Linked DNA regions of Homo sapiens: region 2 is linked to region 1. Evidence: promoter capture Hi-C in 16 types of primary human blood cells and fetal thymus (Javierre and others, 2016). All regions are on one chromosome and are shown on one strand. The core of a region is centred on a gene start or on the middle of the fragment in contact, and the rest is flanking DNA. Distances in the headings are between cores, read along the strand shown. Region 1 holds the start of CD300C (CD300c molecule). Region 2 has its middle 8.0 kb from the start of CD300LF.

Evidence for each region. Contacts are between HindIII fragments. The CHiCAGO score rates a contact against its expected background, and 5 or more counts as called.
Region 2: a contact is called between a fragment that was not itself captured here and the fragment with the promoter of CD300C in region 1, in 1 of 17 cell types (monocytes). The highest score is 6.4, in monocytes.

The regions. Positions count from the first base shown.
Region 1 is chr17:74,542,187-74,549,549 of GRCh38, reverse strand. CD300C (CD300c molecule) reads left to right here and starts at 3,435. Exons shown (of 4, transcript NM_006678.5): 1 at 3,435-3,828; 2 at 4,603-4,941; 3 at 6,563-6,689. The coding sequence starts at 3,768. It also overlaps a transcript of LOC107985074 not described here. The HindIII fragment of the contact is 25,491 bases long and covers 1-7,363 here.
Region 2 is chr17:74,717,278-74,724,640 of GRCh38, reverse strand. It overlaps a transcript of RAB37 not described here. Among named protein-coding and RNA genes, the nearest start is that of CD300LF, 8.0 kb to the right of the region's middle. The HindIII fragment of the contact is 5,750 bases long and covers 1,557-7,306 here.

The sequences.
Region 1 (7,363 bases), core at 2,186-4,685:
CCACAGCTCCCTGTTCAGCAGCCCCTACGTCCTGCTCCTGGTCCTGGAGCTGCCCCTGCTCCTGAGCATGCTGGGTGCCGTCGTCTGGGTGAACGGACCTCAGAGAAGCTCTGGAAGCAGGCAGAGTTGGCCAGAGGGTGAGAACCAGTAGCATCTACTGTCCATCAAGGCCCTGCACTGCGACAGAACCCCTTTGCGGGACTGGAATGACCTCCTGACCACTCCCTCCCGGGCTGCTCTCTCCACATCTCCTGGAATTCTCTGTGAGCCTCCTTCAGCCTTTTCCCTGTGCCTGATCCATGAATCACACGTGAACCTGATGGACACAGACGCCCTGAGCTGTGACTCCATGTCTCATGTGCACGCCCTGGCCAGCTGAACCTCGAGCTGTCACCAACACCTCTAAGTGCCTGATGCCCTCTCTGCACCTTTCCATTTCTCCAGGAGCTTGGCATTGCTTCCTTCAACGTTTTCACAGGGAGGAGCAGGTCCAGGACTCCCCTGCACCTTTGCCACCATAATGGCCCACACTCCCCGGGTCCAGGAGTGCAGAATATGTGGCTGCTTCCATTTGCTGAGTGTGTCAATTCAATGATGCTTTCGAACTTTAAGAAATGACAATACATAGATTCTGGACCTATCATGCCCACTAAGTCAGACCTGGGTGAAAACTCCATTGTTCCCTGATCTCCACAGGCCTTTGCTCAGAATAGTGGACTAAGCCCCAGGCTGGGCCTCTCAGGACTGGGGTCCCTGCAGAAGAGGATCCAGGATTCCCCCCAAAACCTGACAATTCCGTTCCTTATGTAGACACATCCTGGCCAGTGTCTTCTGGTCCCTGCGGGAGGGCTGGTAGAAGATTATCAGTGTGAGTTGTGGCATGGTAGCCAGGCCTTTCCTTCCTCCTTCCTCAAGGGGACCTGACCTCCCCTTCATTCCAGGGCTGTGGCTTTTAACTGACTCAAATATGGAAATTGGTTGAGGGCCGTGACTTCTTAATGTGGTAGTTAACTGAGTCTTTTGCTTACTAGTGCAGACCATGTCTGCTTATCCAGACAAAGGAAGACGTTATCAGCTGACCATCGTTTCGGTTCCAGGGATGCCACACCCAAGACCCCTGTGAGGCAGATGATCCCCATGAGTCCACCAGGTCAAGGAGGGACACGCCTGGGGGTCCTCACCTATTTTTACATTCAGCAGATACTTATGGGAGCTTCTGGTGTATCAGACACTGACCTGGCATTGGAGTCCAGCCGTGAACACCCAGGCAAGGAGCTCTGTTTTCATTGAGCTCATATTCCAGGCGGGGGATAGAAATGATAAACAGATGCAAAAATACGTGCATAAATTCCAGAAGAAATATAAAAGTCAGAGATGAAAAGAGTCACGGAATGAAATAAGAGAAGTGGGGTGACTGCTGTGCAGGAGCTGAGGGGGACTGTGGTGAAGCCCCTCTAATAGGCGCTGAGCAAGCAGGGATCAGGAGAAAGGAGGGGGTGAGCGCCAGGATCCCTGGAGGAGGAGCCCTGAGGCAGAGAGAGGAGCAGGTGCACATGTCCTGCCAGGGGCAGATGCCTCCCTGGGTCAGGTGGCTTCAGGGCCTCCAGACAGCATTTCCTGTCTCCTCCCCAGCCTGGGCAGGAAATGGTGCACCAACTTTGGATGACTAAGTCCTCTGAGGCAGTGGGACATCAGGATGTCATGTATCCATTCACCCATTCATCCTTTCAACAGCCAGTTTGTTAAACTGCACTTGGCAGACTCTGGAATGATAACGGGCACAGCTGTGAATGAGACAAGAGGCTGCACCTGCTCTCAAGGGGCGGCCACCCTAGATGGGAGCAGACATTGACTCGCCAACAGAAAGACTGAGGAAGACGAGAGGGAAGTGTGAAATGGGTCATGAGGACCCCTAAAAAGCGAGCCACCATAACCCGGGAAGGTCAAGGAACACGCAGGCAACCCTGTCGGCTGGAGCCAGGCAGAGGAGTGGGAGGTTGAGGGTCTGGACAAAGGCCCGAGTGGGGAGGGTGGCAGCACCAGTGTGAACCTGGATCCAGGAGGCTGGAGACACCTACCAGGTGCTGGGGCCTGCCAGGACCTGTGTGCAGAGGCCAGGTCAGGTGGGTGCCATCCTGTGACAGCAGGAGCCATTGGGAGTTCAGCAGCGCCTCCCCAGGGCCATGTGTGTGTGTCAGGGATCACATTGCTGATTCTGTGGAGAATGAAAGGGGTGGGTATGAGCAGAAGGGGAGACCAGGTCAGCCCATGAAAGAGCCGGGATACTTCAAAGCCAGGCCCAGGCCAGACCTGAGCACTGGGCTAATTGGAGGCCCTGGGATTGCACTGGGCTAGAGATAGTCCCATGATGTGAGTCTGGGGGCATCAACACCAATGACCCCAGTGCATGCTGTGTCCCTGAGAGTGTAAATGGAGGGAGGACAGGGCAGGTCGAGGGTGCAGAGACCCCTTCATGGTGCCAGGTTTGCCCAGACTCCCATCACTCTCCACTCAACCTCATGGCTGTGTGCACATACTGGTGCTATTGACTCTGATAGGAAGAAAGGAACAGAAATCTGTAGGAGGGTTGGGAGAGTCAAGGAATATGCTTAAGGCATGAGAAGGTGGAGAAGGGGTGATGCCCTCCAGGACAGACAGGAGGTAAATCCTGTGTCTGACTAGCCTCCTTGCCCTTTCCAGGGTAAAGACACCCTGAGCCCATCACGTCAGGAGAACCAGCCATGCCGAGTGTGGATAGACCTGGGTTCCCGCCTCCTGGGAAGGCCTGTCTGCCATGTCTGCTCCCTGCGGAGGCCCCTGGCCATCACAGTGGACCCAGGATAGACACCAGCAGCCGCTGCTCATGACAAACTGTCCTCTCAGTCACCAAACACCCCTCCGTGTGCCCTGGGGTGTGTGCTGGCTCAGTCGCAGCCTCACATCCTCCACAAAGTCCCACTTCAGCATCTTCACATGTCTGAACTCTCTCTCTATTCTCAGTTCTCTGCCCTGATTCCCACTGGGGCATGGATTTTGGCAAGAAGACAAGATGGAAAAGGAGGGTCTCGGGTGGGTGATGCCGCTGTGTGTGTAGGTCTGGGGGCAGGGGCACAAGAGGAAAACTCCCCAAGCCTGTGGGATTTTAACCTGGTTGGGGACTCAGCACCAAAAAGGGACATGCAGATGGTGTCTGGGTTCATAGCGCTAACTTCTGAGGCCAGAAGAAGAGCTGGGGGTCTTAGGGGCAGAGGTCTCTGCGGGGACCTAGCTGAAGATTAAGGGACACAACCTCTCTCTGGTCACCTCCAAGGCTAAAGAAGGTGGCAGATTTAGCCTCCAACCACAAGATTGTCCATCCTGACCAGGAAGTGACATGTCACAGAGGGTGGAGCAGCCCATGTGGTAGGAAATGGCCCAGCTTGGCTCTGCCTTCTGCAGTGTGAGTAACACACTGAAGCCAGAAGCTGTGGGCTGTGGGGAAGTGGCTGCATCGCCACCCAAGGGACCCTGGACTTTGCCAGACGTCAGGGTTGAGAGGAGCCACTAGCACCATCCCAGAGCTGTCAGCACCGGCCTCAGCCCAGGCGGCTCTCTCCCTGAGCTTCCTGTACCCTGACCCTCTCCAGCCTCAGACCTGAGACAGGGCTGGACAAGGAAGCAGAGAGCAGAAGAAAAGCAGAAGCGAAGCTCAGATCTGCTGGGAGGAGATTACATTTTGTCCCCTCCTGGGGTCTTGCACAGTGGCAGGTGACATTCGTGTTACAGGAATGACTGCCAGGGCCTGGGCCTCGTGGCGGTCTTCAGCTCTGCTCCTCCTGCTTGTCCCAGGTGAGTGGGCCGACCCTGGACTTGGGGAGCTCTGTCCTGAGTGGGAGAGGGCAGGGAGGGGTGCAGGCGCTGGAGTAGCGGTCATAGAGGGGAGTGGGGCAGGGAGAGGGGAGGAGGGCAAAGGAGCACCCAGGAGCGGTCAGCAGCTGCCTCACCAGGGGACAGCAGGCGGCAGGGCACAGCACGGGGGAGGCCTATTCCTCTGTGCCCGAGACAGGAAGCCCTGGTGGGAGGTGATGCTGTGACTGTCATTGCCAAAGTTATCCAATCACAAATTTTATCTGGGACGATCACACACACAGTCACACTCACACGCACACACGGTCACACTCACACAGTCTCACACACATGCACACACAGTCACACTCACACAGTCTCACACACACATGCACACAGTCACACATGCACACACAGTCACACTCACATGCACACACAGTCACACATGCACACACAGTCACACACAGTCACACTCACACAGACAGTCACACTCACACAGTCACACACACAGAGTCACACTCACATGCACACACAGGCCCGCACACACCCAGTGTTTCCCTAGCCTTGCCTTTCCAGTCTCCATGGAAACTTCCCATGCCCTTCCCACCTCTGCACAGAGGGAGCCTCCCACCCTCAGTCCCTGTTCCTGGGTGGACAAAGGCTGCCTGCCTGCCATTGCCTTCTCCACACGCCCAGGGTCCATGAGGGGCTGACACTGCGGCACCCCTGACCAGGCCCCTCTGGTAAGGAGACAGGATTTTGGCTTGTATTTTTCAGGCTATTTTCCTCTGAGCCACCCCATGACCGTGGCGGGCCCCGTGGGGGGATCCCTGAGTGTGCAGTGTCGCTATGAGAAGGAACACAGGACCCTCAACAAATTCTGGTGCAGACCACCACAGATTCTCCGATGTGACAAGATTGTGGAGACCAAAGGGTCAGCAGGGAAAAGGAATGGCCGAGTGTCCATCAGGGACAGTCCTGCAAACCTCAGCTTCACAGTGACCCTGGAGAATCTCACAGAGGAGGACGCAGGCACCTACTGGTGTGGGGTGGATACACCGTGGCTCCGAGACTTTCATGATCCCATTGTCGAGGTTGAGGTGTCCGTGTTCCCGGGTGAGCCCCTCCTTTTCTCAGCACCAGGCCTGCCTGAGCCTAGGGCTGGTCATTCTGTCCCTGAAGAAAGAAGTGGAACAGGAGGGTGTGAGCCTGGGGGTTGGTGAGTCAGGACACTGTGTGCCGCTGTGTGTGGATGAGTGTGAGTGCGTCTTTGTGTATGCGTGCCTGCATAGGAGTTGTGGTGTGGTTTGTGTGTGTGTGCACCTGCATGTGTGTGTTGGGAGGGTGGGCGCCCACAAAAGCACCCTGGCCCTGTGGCTGGAGACCCCCCGCTGTGGGCCCTCCCTCACGGCCTCAGGCCTGAAACTTTCCTGGGTGGGGTCTGTGAGGCCACCCCTGACTCTGGGGTCCTTGCTACCTCCCTGTATTGACAAGGGCCGGATCCATACTGAAGGGTGCCCACTGTCCCGCCTGGGTCTAACTCGCTCTTCCCCACGGGGAATTGGACCCCCCCATCATTGGCTCCTCTCACTCAAGGCTGCCCCTGCCCTGGGGCCTGCATGGATGCCGCCCTGTCTGGAGGGTCCTGAGGCCGCAGCCTCACAGCCCTGTCCTGGGAGCTCCTGCAGCAGCCACTGGAGGACACAGGAAGGAGCCCCAGAGCCCTGGGTGGGGTTCTCATGCTCCTGGGAACCACATCCTGCCCCTGAGGCTGACCTGTGTGTCCCCCTTATTCTCTGGCACCTTTTACCACAGGAGGGAACCCCAGAAATTGCCCCCTCAGGCAAAGGGACCTGTGGATGGAAATGAGCTGAGACTGGCACGGACCTGAGGGCCCTTTCCCGTGCCGAAGATCATTCTTCCCTCAAAGGCCCCCTCCTGTCTCACAAGACACAAACCCAGTGGCCTCAGTGTGGTTGCTTTTCCATCGTTTTCTTCTGACAATGTCCCAGGTTCCTCGGAGCATCTTCTTGTTCTCCATTTCCCCGGGGGCGACGTGTCCCTCCTGCGCCCTTTGTGCCTTCCTATCTAGGAGTGAGGAGCTAAGATCCCACCTGAGGGCGCCAGGGAGAGGAGGAAAGGGCCCTTATCCAGCTGTATTCACCACGGGCCGCCGCCCAGGCTTCACCGGGCATCCCCTCTCTAGATCTTTCTTCCTGGGCATTCCCTCCTGCTGAGAGGATGGTCCAATGGCCTTGTGGGGCCGCAGCATGGCTGCCATTTGGGGCTGAGTGGACTCGGGTCCCATCGTTCAGGGAGGACCCCACTGACTTCCTGTCCTCACTTCCAGCCTCTCTCCAGCCACTGCTGTGCCCAGGGCCCTGGCTTCGCAGTCACTCTGGGTCACCCTTCGCAGAGTAAACATCACCCCATTCCCCCAGGTCACCCTGTCCCTCCCTGGCTGGGGTGAAACCTGGAGACCCGTACCTTTGCCACAGGTGAGCAGGGCAGCTCTCACATCTGAAATGGTGTCCTGGCTCTGCAGTACCTAGGGATGGGACAAGGAGAGGCCCAGGACCCTGGTCAGGCCTGGGTGTGGCCGTGGGGCATGATGGATGCAGGGCATCTGTCCAGCACATCATTGGTGACCTTGTCTGTGAAAATTGGAGCAGAACAGGTGAGAGTAAGTGGGAGACCCATGTGATGTCATCAAGGTTGACCTGTGTTTCACCCACAGCCGGGACGACCACAGCCTCCAGCCCCCAGAGCTCCATGGGCACCTCAGGTCCTCCCACGAAGCTGCCCGTGCACACCTGGCCCAGCGTGACCAGAAAGGACAGCCCCGAACCCAGCCCACACCCTGGGTAAGGTGCCTGCGCATAGGACTGGGCCACGCTGGCGGCCTCCCCACTGCGTGTGATGTTTAGGGGACTCGGATGTCCCTTCTTCCAGTCCCTTCTTTGTTCGCACCTCCCACACCAAACGTGAAGGTTCTATTAAGTGTCAGGCGCTCCTTTTGGGATTGGGTCACAGCAGGGAACCACACAGCCACTGTCCTGCCCTGGTGGAAGTTGAGTTCTACTGCGTGGATTCACGCATTGAGCAAGTCAGCACAGAGGCTGATGTACAAATACAGCAAAGGGTAATGAATGCTGGGATGAGATGTTTGACTCTTGGGTTTGGGGAGAGCGTGTGCAGGTGTTGGAGTTGCTATTTCACTGACGATGATCAGAAGAGGGTTTGAGAATTAGAGGACATGAGCACAGAGACCTCAAGGGTTGGGGGCTGGGCACTCTGGGGTCTGGAGGAAGAAGGGTCCAGGTGGAGGGAGGAGTGAGGCAAATGTCCTGCGAGGAGCCTTGGGACCTGGCCAGGCCAGGGAAGGGGGCAGATGCTCTGGGGTCCGGTGGCCCTGGTCCTCTCCCCTGCCTCTCTCGCAGCCCTGGCCAGAGTTTCATCCTGTTTGATAAGCCCAGTCCTCTGAGGAGCTGAGAGCTGAGCTGTCCATTCATTAATTCCTTCAACAACCACTGAAGTT
Region 2 (7,363 bases), core at 3,182-5,681, 170 kb before region 1:
ACCTGTAAGAACCAATGATAATCCCACTGCTCTTTGCTGACTCTCTTTTCGGATTCAGCCTGCCTGCACCCAGGTGAAATAAACAGCCACGTTGCTCACACAAAGCCTGTTTGGTGGTCTCTTCACACGGACACATGAGACAGATATGTGAAAGGAAAATATCTTAGGCCCCCAAAATCACTAAGGAAAGCTCAAGCTGCAAACTGCTTAGGGCAAACCTACCTCCCATCTATTCATCTAAGTCACCCATCTGCTCACTGAGATAGATGCATATCTGATTGCCTCCTTTGGAAAGGCTCATTGGAAACTCAAAAGAATGCAACTATCTGTGATCTGGAAGCTCCCTCCATGTTTCCAGTCTTCTGCCTTTGCTTCTGAGTTGTCCCGCCTTTCCAGACCAAACCAATGCACTTCTTAACATATCTTGATTGATGTCTCATGTCTCCCTAAAATGTGTAAAGCCTAGCTGTGCCCTGACCACCTTGGCCACATGTCGTCAGGACTTCCTGAGGCTGTGTCATGGGCACGTCCTGAACCTTGGCAAAATAAACTTTCTAAATTAACTGAGACTTGTCTCAGATTTTCTGGTTTCACAGATAACCCAGCAGAGCTTCTCTCGCCACCCAACAGCTGCTGAAAATTCCTTAAATTTCTCCAAGTTGGTTCCCAGTTTCACTGCTTGGAGAAGCTGAATGTCAACTTTGGGTCCAGATTTGTCACCATGCCTTCCCTCTTTGTGTTTCTCTTCGCATTTATGAAAATGTTACGGCCGGGTGCGGTGGCTCATGCCTGTAATCCCAGCATTTTGAGAGGCCAAGGCAAGTGGATCACGAGGTCAGGAGTTTGAGACCAGCCTGCCAACATAGTGAAACCCCGTCTCTACTAAAAATACAAAAATTAGCCAGGCAAAAATGCGCGCCTGTAGTCCCAGCTACTCAGGAGGCTGAGGCACGAGAATCACTTGAATCCAGGAGGCAGAGGTTGTGGTGAGCCGAGACCACGCCACTGCACTCCAGCCTGGGCGACAGAGTGAGACTCCGTCTCAAAAAAAAAAAAAAAAAAAAAGTTAGTTAATTGTGGTTCAGACAGAAACCTCTGGGTCAACTTTGCCACCATTCAGACAAGCGTCTTTGTTCTTTCTTGAGTCATTTTGTTTATATCTGTATTTGTGCCTCATTCACTTCCAATGGGGACAGGTGGTTTCAAACAAACCCACAAGTACGAGAAGGCAGTTCAAGAAATTGCCTGAAAAAATATACAAAGAATAGGGGTGTGTGTGTAGGGGTGGGGTGGGCTGGGGCAAATCTTCCATCCCAGAGTGAGGTTAGGTTGTTACTGCGTTTGAGCATTGTGTTTGGTTATAGGTTTCCTGACAATCAAGGCAAAGGGGAAAACCAGGTGGGGTGTATGGTACTTGTCTGACATTGTATGCCTGAGTCCTTTCCATCGAGTATTTTCTCCTGTTATACACTGCTATAATCTGTTAAGTGGATCCTTCTGCAAGGGGCCTTGAATAACAAAATGGGCAATTGCAACTTTGCGGAAGACGCAAAGCTTTTTCTAAAGCTGTTGTATCGACCCTTGATAAATGCAGGGCATAACATTAAATCCTACTTTATCCAGGCCTCTCAATGGGAGCCAGGCTAATGCTGTCTAAGTACACTATTGCTGCTTTTCTGTGACTTTATTATTCAGGGACAGCTTTTAGAAAACCTGATAAATGGGATGGTTACCATGGCTCCTAAAGTGGCTCTGAGTGACCTTCTTAACAAGACAGGAAATTCAGATGCCATAAAGAAAAGATCGATAGATTTGCTGCAATAAAAATGTTTTGGTTGACAGAAGATTCCACAAACAAAGTCGAATGAGAAATGGTACAGGGAAGATATTTTCGAGACATATGACATATGGTAATATCCCTCATATAAGGAGAGCTCTCAGAAGAAAACTTCAATAGAAAAGTGAACAAAGGATGTGAATAGGTTGATATATTTTTGTGTACATGTGGTTAGTTTTATGTGTCAACTTGGCTGGACTATAGTCCTACTTATTCAATTAAACACTAATCTAGATGTTGCTGTGAAGGTACTTTGTTGATGTTGTTAACATCTCCAAGCAGCTGACTTTAAGTCTTCAGTAATCTGGGTGAGTGTCCTCTGATTAATTGAAAGAGTTTAAGAGCAAAACTGAGGTTTCCCTGAGGAAGCAGAAATTCTGCCTCGTGTTTGTAGCATCAACTCTCGCCTGAAAATTTACAGCCTTTGGGCTGGCCCTACAGAGTTTGGACTTGCCAGCCCCCAGTCATGTAAGCCAATTTCTCGGACAAATCTCTCTCTCTTTCTTTTTTTTTTTTTTTTTGAGACAGAGTCTCGCTCTGTCGCCCAGGCCAGGGTGCAGGGGCACGATCTTGACTCACTGCAAGCTCTGCCTCCCGGGTTCACGCCATTCTCCTGCCTCAGCCTCCCAAGTATCTGGGACTACAGGCGCCCGCCACCACGCCCGGCTAATTTTTTGTATTTTTGGTAGAGATGGGGTTTCACTGTGGTCTCGATCTCCTGACCTCGTGATCCACCGTCCTCAGCCTCCCAAAGTGCTGGGATTACAGGCGTGAGCCACTGTGCCTGGCTGACAAATCTCTCTTTCTTTCCATATATATAGCTTACCGTTTCTGTTTCTCTGGAGAACCCTAACCGATACAATGACAATATAATGTATAGCGGCTTGATAAAAGTTTGGTAATGGTCAGTACTGGCTTAGATTTGGGGAAACAGGCACTCATACATACACTATTAGTGGGAGTATACATTGAGCAACCATTTTGGATAGCAACTGACAATATCTATCAAGGTTTCAAGTGCAAATTCCTTTGACTCAGCAACTCTATGGCTTTCCTTGCAAAAATAAACCAAGAGGACCAGGCGTGGTGGCTCATGCCTGTAATCCCAGCACTTTGGGAGGCCGAGGCGGATCACCTGAGGTTGGGAGTTTGAGACCAGCCTGACCAACATAGGGAAACCCTGTCTCTACTGAAAATACAAAAATTAGCAGGGCATGGTGACGTGCACCTGTAATGCCAGCTACTCGGGAAGCTGAGGCAGGAGAATCACTTGAACCTGGGAGGTGGAGGTTACAGTCAGCCAAGATCACACCATTACACTACAGCCTGGGTGACAGAACAAGACTCCATCTCAAAAAAAAAAAAAAAAAGTAAACCAAGATATGTGTATAAGGATGCTCATTGTAGTGTTTGTAAGAACAAATAATTCAGCAGTAGAGACTAGTGAAGTAAACTCTAGAATATACATACAATGCAGTACTGTGAAAACAGTAAAAGGATGAGGAAGATCTGTATGTACTGTATGTCCCTGTTGCAGCAGGGAAATACTGGGTAAAAGAGGGCGAGGTCCTGGCGATGGCTCCACCCTCAAGCCTGGACCTGCGGCCCTAAATGAGAACATGCATTCCTGTTTTCCTGCCTGAATGTTGCCTTTTCCAAAACCACCCTGGCCCACCATGTCCCCAGCCCTGTACCCATAAAAAGCTCTTGGCAGACGAGCAGAGTGGTGTAGCTGAGAAGGAGAGAAGAGACAAGCAGCTGAACGTCAAGAGTGGAAGCAACTGAGCATCGGAGCATACGGATAGACACGGCTTAACTTCAGATGGCACGGCTTCAGAGAGGAGCCCGGTTATCTCCAGCCAGGCTTCAGGGAAAGATCACCTTCTTCCCACACCATCCCTTTTCCAGCTCCCCTTCCACTGAGAGCCACTTCCACCGCTTAATAAAATCTCCGCATTCATCATCCTTCAAGTCTATGTGACCTGATTCTTCCTGGACACCTGACAAGAACCCGGGTACCAAGAGAGCAGGGTGTAAAAGGCTGTCACCCTGGCTCTCCACTGAGCTGGTTAACACTTAACTCTGTACCAAGAGGGCAGGGTGTAAAAAGGCTGTCACCTTGACTCTCCGCTGAGCTGGCTAACACTTAGCCATCTGTGGATGGCAACTGCTAAAAGAGCATTAATTGTGTTTTTCTTTTCTTTTATTTTTTTGAGACAGAGGCTCAGTCTGTCACACAGGCTGGAGTGTAATGGTGGGATCTTGGCTCACTGCAACCTCCACCTCCTGGGTTCAAGCAATTCTCCTGCCTCAGCCTCCCAAGTAGCTGGGATTATAGGCACCCGCCACCACACCCTGCCAAATTTTGGGTTTTTTTTTTCAGTAGAGATGGGGTTTCGCCATGTTGGCCACGTTGGTCTTGAACTCCTGGCCTCAGGTGATCCACCCACCTCGGCCTCCCAAAGTGCTGGCATTACAGTCGTGAGCCACCATGCCTGGCCTAAAAGAACCTTAATTGTAACACACCCCTTCATGCTGCCGTGGGGCCAGAGCCCAAAAGTACTCGTCCCAGCCCTAGCACCCACTTGCCTGTGTGCTCCCTCTCACGAGGGGCTGAACCCAGTGGGTTCGAGCAAGTAAAGTTCGTCCCTGCTGGTGCCTAAATGGCCGACTGGACCCAGAGCTGGTGCCCTCCAGTTCCTACCTGCAAAAGGGTCAAAGGAACTCTCCTGTCTCACTGTTTGGGAGAAAGTTCATTATTAAGCAAAAGAAGCAGGGGGCAGAGTGATGTATATAGTATGATGAATGTGTATATGTTACTTAGGTTTATCTGCTGGAGTATGATTAACTTTTCTCAGGGAGGCAATAGAGGCCAAGAGGATTGCCTTTGAGGTTCTGGGGCTGGTAGGTGGGAAATGGAGATAAGACTTTTACTTTTCATTTAATCTTTTTCTATGTTTTAAAAAATTTATTTAAATAATTTGCTTGGCCAGGTACAGTGGCTCACACTTGTAATTCCAGTGCTTGGGGAGGCCAAAGGCAGGAGGATCACTTGAGCCCAGGAGTTCGAGACCAGCTTGAAAACATAGGAAGACCCTATTCTACAATAAATAAAACAATAAGCTGGGCTTGGTGGTGCATGCCTGTATTCCCAGCTATTGGGGAGGCTGAGGCAGGAGGATTACTTGAGTCCAGGAGATTTTCCAGAATTACAGCTGCATTGAGCTATAATTGCACCACTGTACTCTAGCCTTGGTGACACAGTGAGAACCCATCTCAAAAGAAAAAAAAGGAAAAGAAAAAGAAAGGTAATTGTGAGCAAATTATTTTATTTTATTTATTTATTTTTTTGAGATGAGTTCTTGCTGTGTTGCCCAGTCTGGAGTGCTGTGGCTCATGATGACGAGTCACTGCAGCCTCGACCTCTCTGGGCTCGGGTGATCCTCCCACTTCAGCCTCCCAAGTAACTGGGACTACAGGCACATGCCACTGTGCCCAGCTAATTTTTTTGTATTTTTTGCAGAGTTGGGGTTTCACCATGTTTCCCAGGCTGGTCTCGATCTCCTGGGCTCAAGTAATCCACCCATCTTGGCCTCCCAAAGTGCTGAGATTAAAGGTGTGAGCCACCAAACTTGGCCTGCATTTTACCTTTTTAAAGAAAGTATTAACTGGAGGTATTTCAGAGCTGGTATTTTCGGCCATGTCTCTCTTTTTTATAAAATAGGATTTAATTTTTAGAGAATTTCTAGGTTCACATTAACACTGGGCAGAAGATACAGGGATTTTTCCACAGACCCTTTTCCCCCACAGATGTATAACCTTCCCCATTATCAACACCCTCCACTGCCATACTTTTTATGTTTTTCCTGTATTAAAATGCCCTAATAAAGGTAGTAGTCCAGTTGGTAAAGCAAACTCATACATGAGTGATCCTTCATGTAACCTGAAATAAATTGCTTTTCTACAGAAGAACAAAAGATTGGTAATAGATACACACACATATATTTAACAGCAGTTATTTCTGTGTGGCAGGATTCGGAGTGACTTAAGATGCATTCTTTGTGTTCATCTGTATTTCACTGTTTTTCTCTAACAAACACACATTACTTTTGTAGTGGGAAAAAGTCTGTGTGTGTGTTGAGGAGGTGCATTGCACTGGGGAATCTGATGAAAGCTAAGGGGATGCCCAAGTTTAGCCTACCTGTTGCTGAACAAACGCTTGTTTTTTTTTCCAAATACATCTAGCCAATTAATAGGTGCTTAAAAACAAGATCAAATTTTCTAGGCAGGGGGAGCCTCAATTGCAGCTCTTCCACTTTGTCAAGGAGCAGGTAGCAAAGATGACAGGTGCTCTATTCTGAAAATCAAAGAGCCCTTTTTTTTTCTCTAACCCACTATCTTAGTCCCGGCTGCTATAACAAAATACCATAGACTGGGTGGATATGATATGATATGATATGATATGATATGATATGATATGATATGATGTATGATATGATATGATGTTTTAGAGACAGTGTCTCACTCTGTCACCTAGGCTGGAGTGCAATGGCACGATCTTGGCTCACTGCAACCTCCGTCTCCTGGGCTCAGGTGATTCCCCTGCCTCAGCCTCCGAAGTAGCTGGGACTACAGGGTCGTGCCACCATGCCCAGCTAATTGTATCTTTTGGTAGAGACGGAGTTTCACCATGTTGGCCAGGCTGGTCTGGAGCTCCTGATCTCAAGGGATCTGCCTGCCTTGGCCTCCCAAAGTGCTGGGATTACAGGTGTGGGCCACTATGCCCTGCTGATTGTGTGGTTTATAAACAGAAATGTATTTCTCACAGTTTTGGAGCCTGGAGAGTCCAAGGTCAAGGCACTGGTAGGCTCAGGATCTGGTGAGGACCCACTCCTCAGGGAGGACTCCTTCTTGCTGTGTCCTCACATGGTAGAAGGGGCAAGGCAGCTCTCTGGCACCTTTCTTTTTCTTTTCTGTTTTTTTTTTTTTTTTTTTAGATGGAGTTTCGCTCTTGCTGCCCAGGCTGGAGTGCAATGGTACGATCTTGGCTCACCACAACCTCTGCCTCCCAGGTTCAAGCAATTCTTCTGCCTCAGCCTCCTGAGTAGCTGGGATTACAGGCATGCACCACATCTGGCTAATTTCGTATTTTCAGTAGAGACGGGGTTTCTCTATGTTGGTTAGGCTGGTCTTGAACTCCCTCCCGACCTCAGGTGATCTGCCTGCCTCGGCCTCCCTAAGTGCTGGGGTTACAGGCATGAGCCACCGCGCCCAGCCCTCTGGGGCCTTTCTTATAAGGGCACTAATCCCATTCAGGAGACCTAGTTACTCTCCTGACCTAGTTACTCTCCAAAGGCTCAACCTCGTAATGCCATCACATTGAAGGTTAAGTTTCAACGTATGAAATTCGAGAGACACAAACTTTCAGACTCACTCTTTGGAGACGCCTATTTTTCTCAGAAATAAGCTTTGCCTGTGCCTGAATTCCTGGACAAGAACTTGGGTAAGGCCCAGATTCCCATTCCA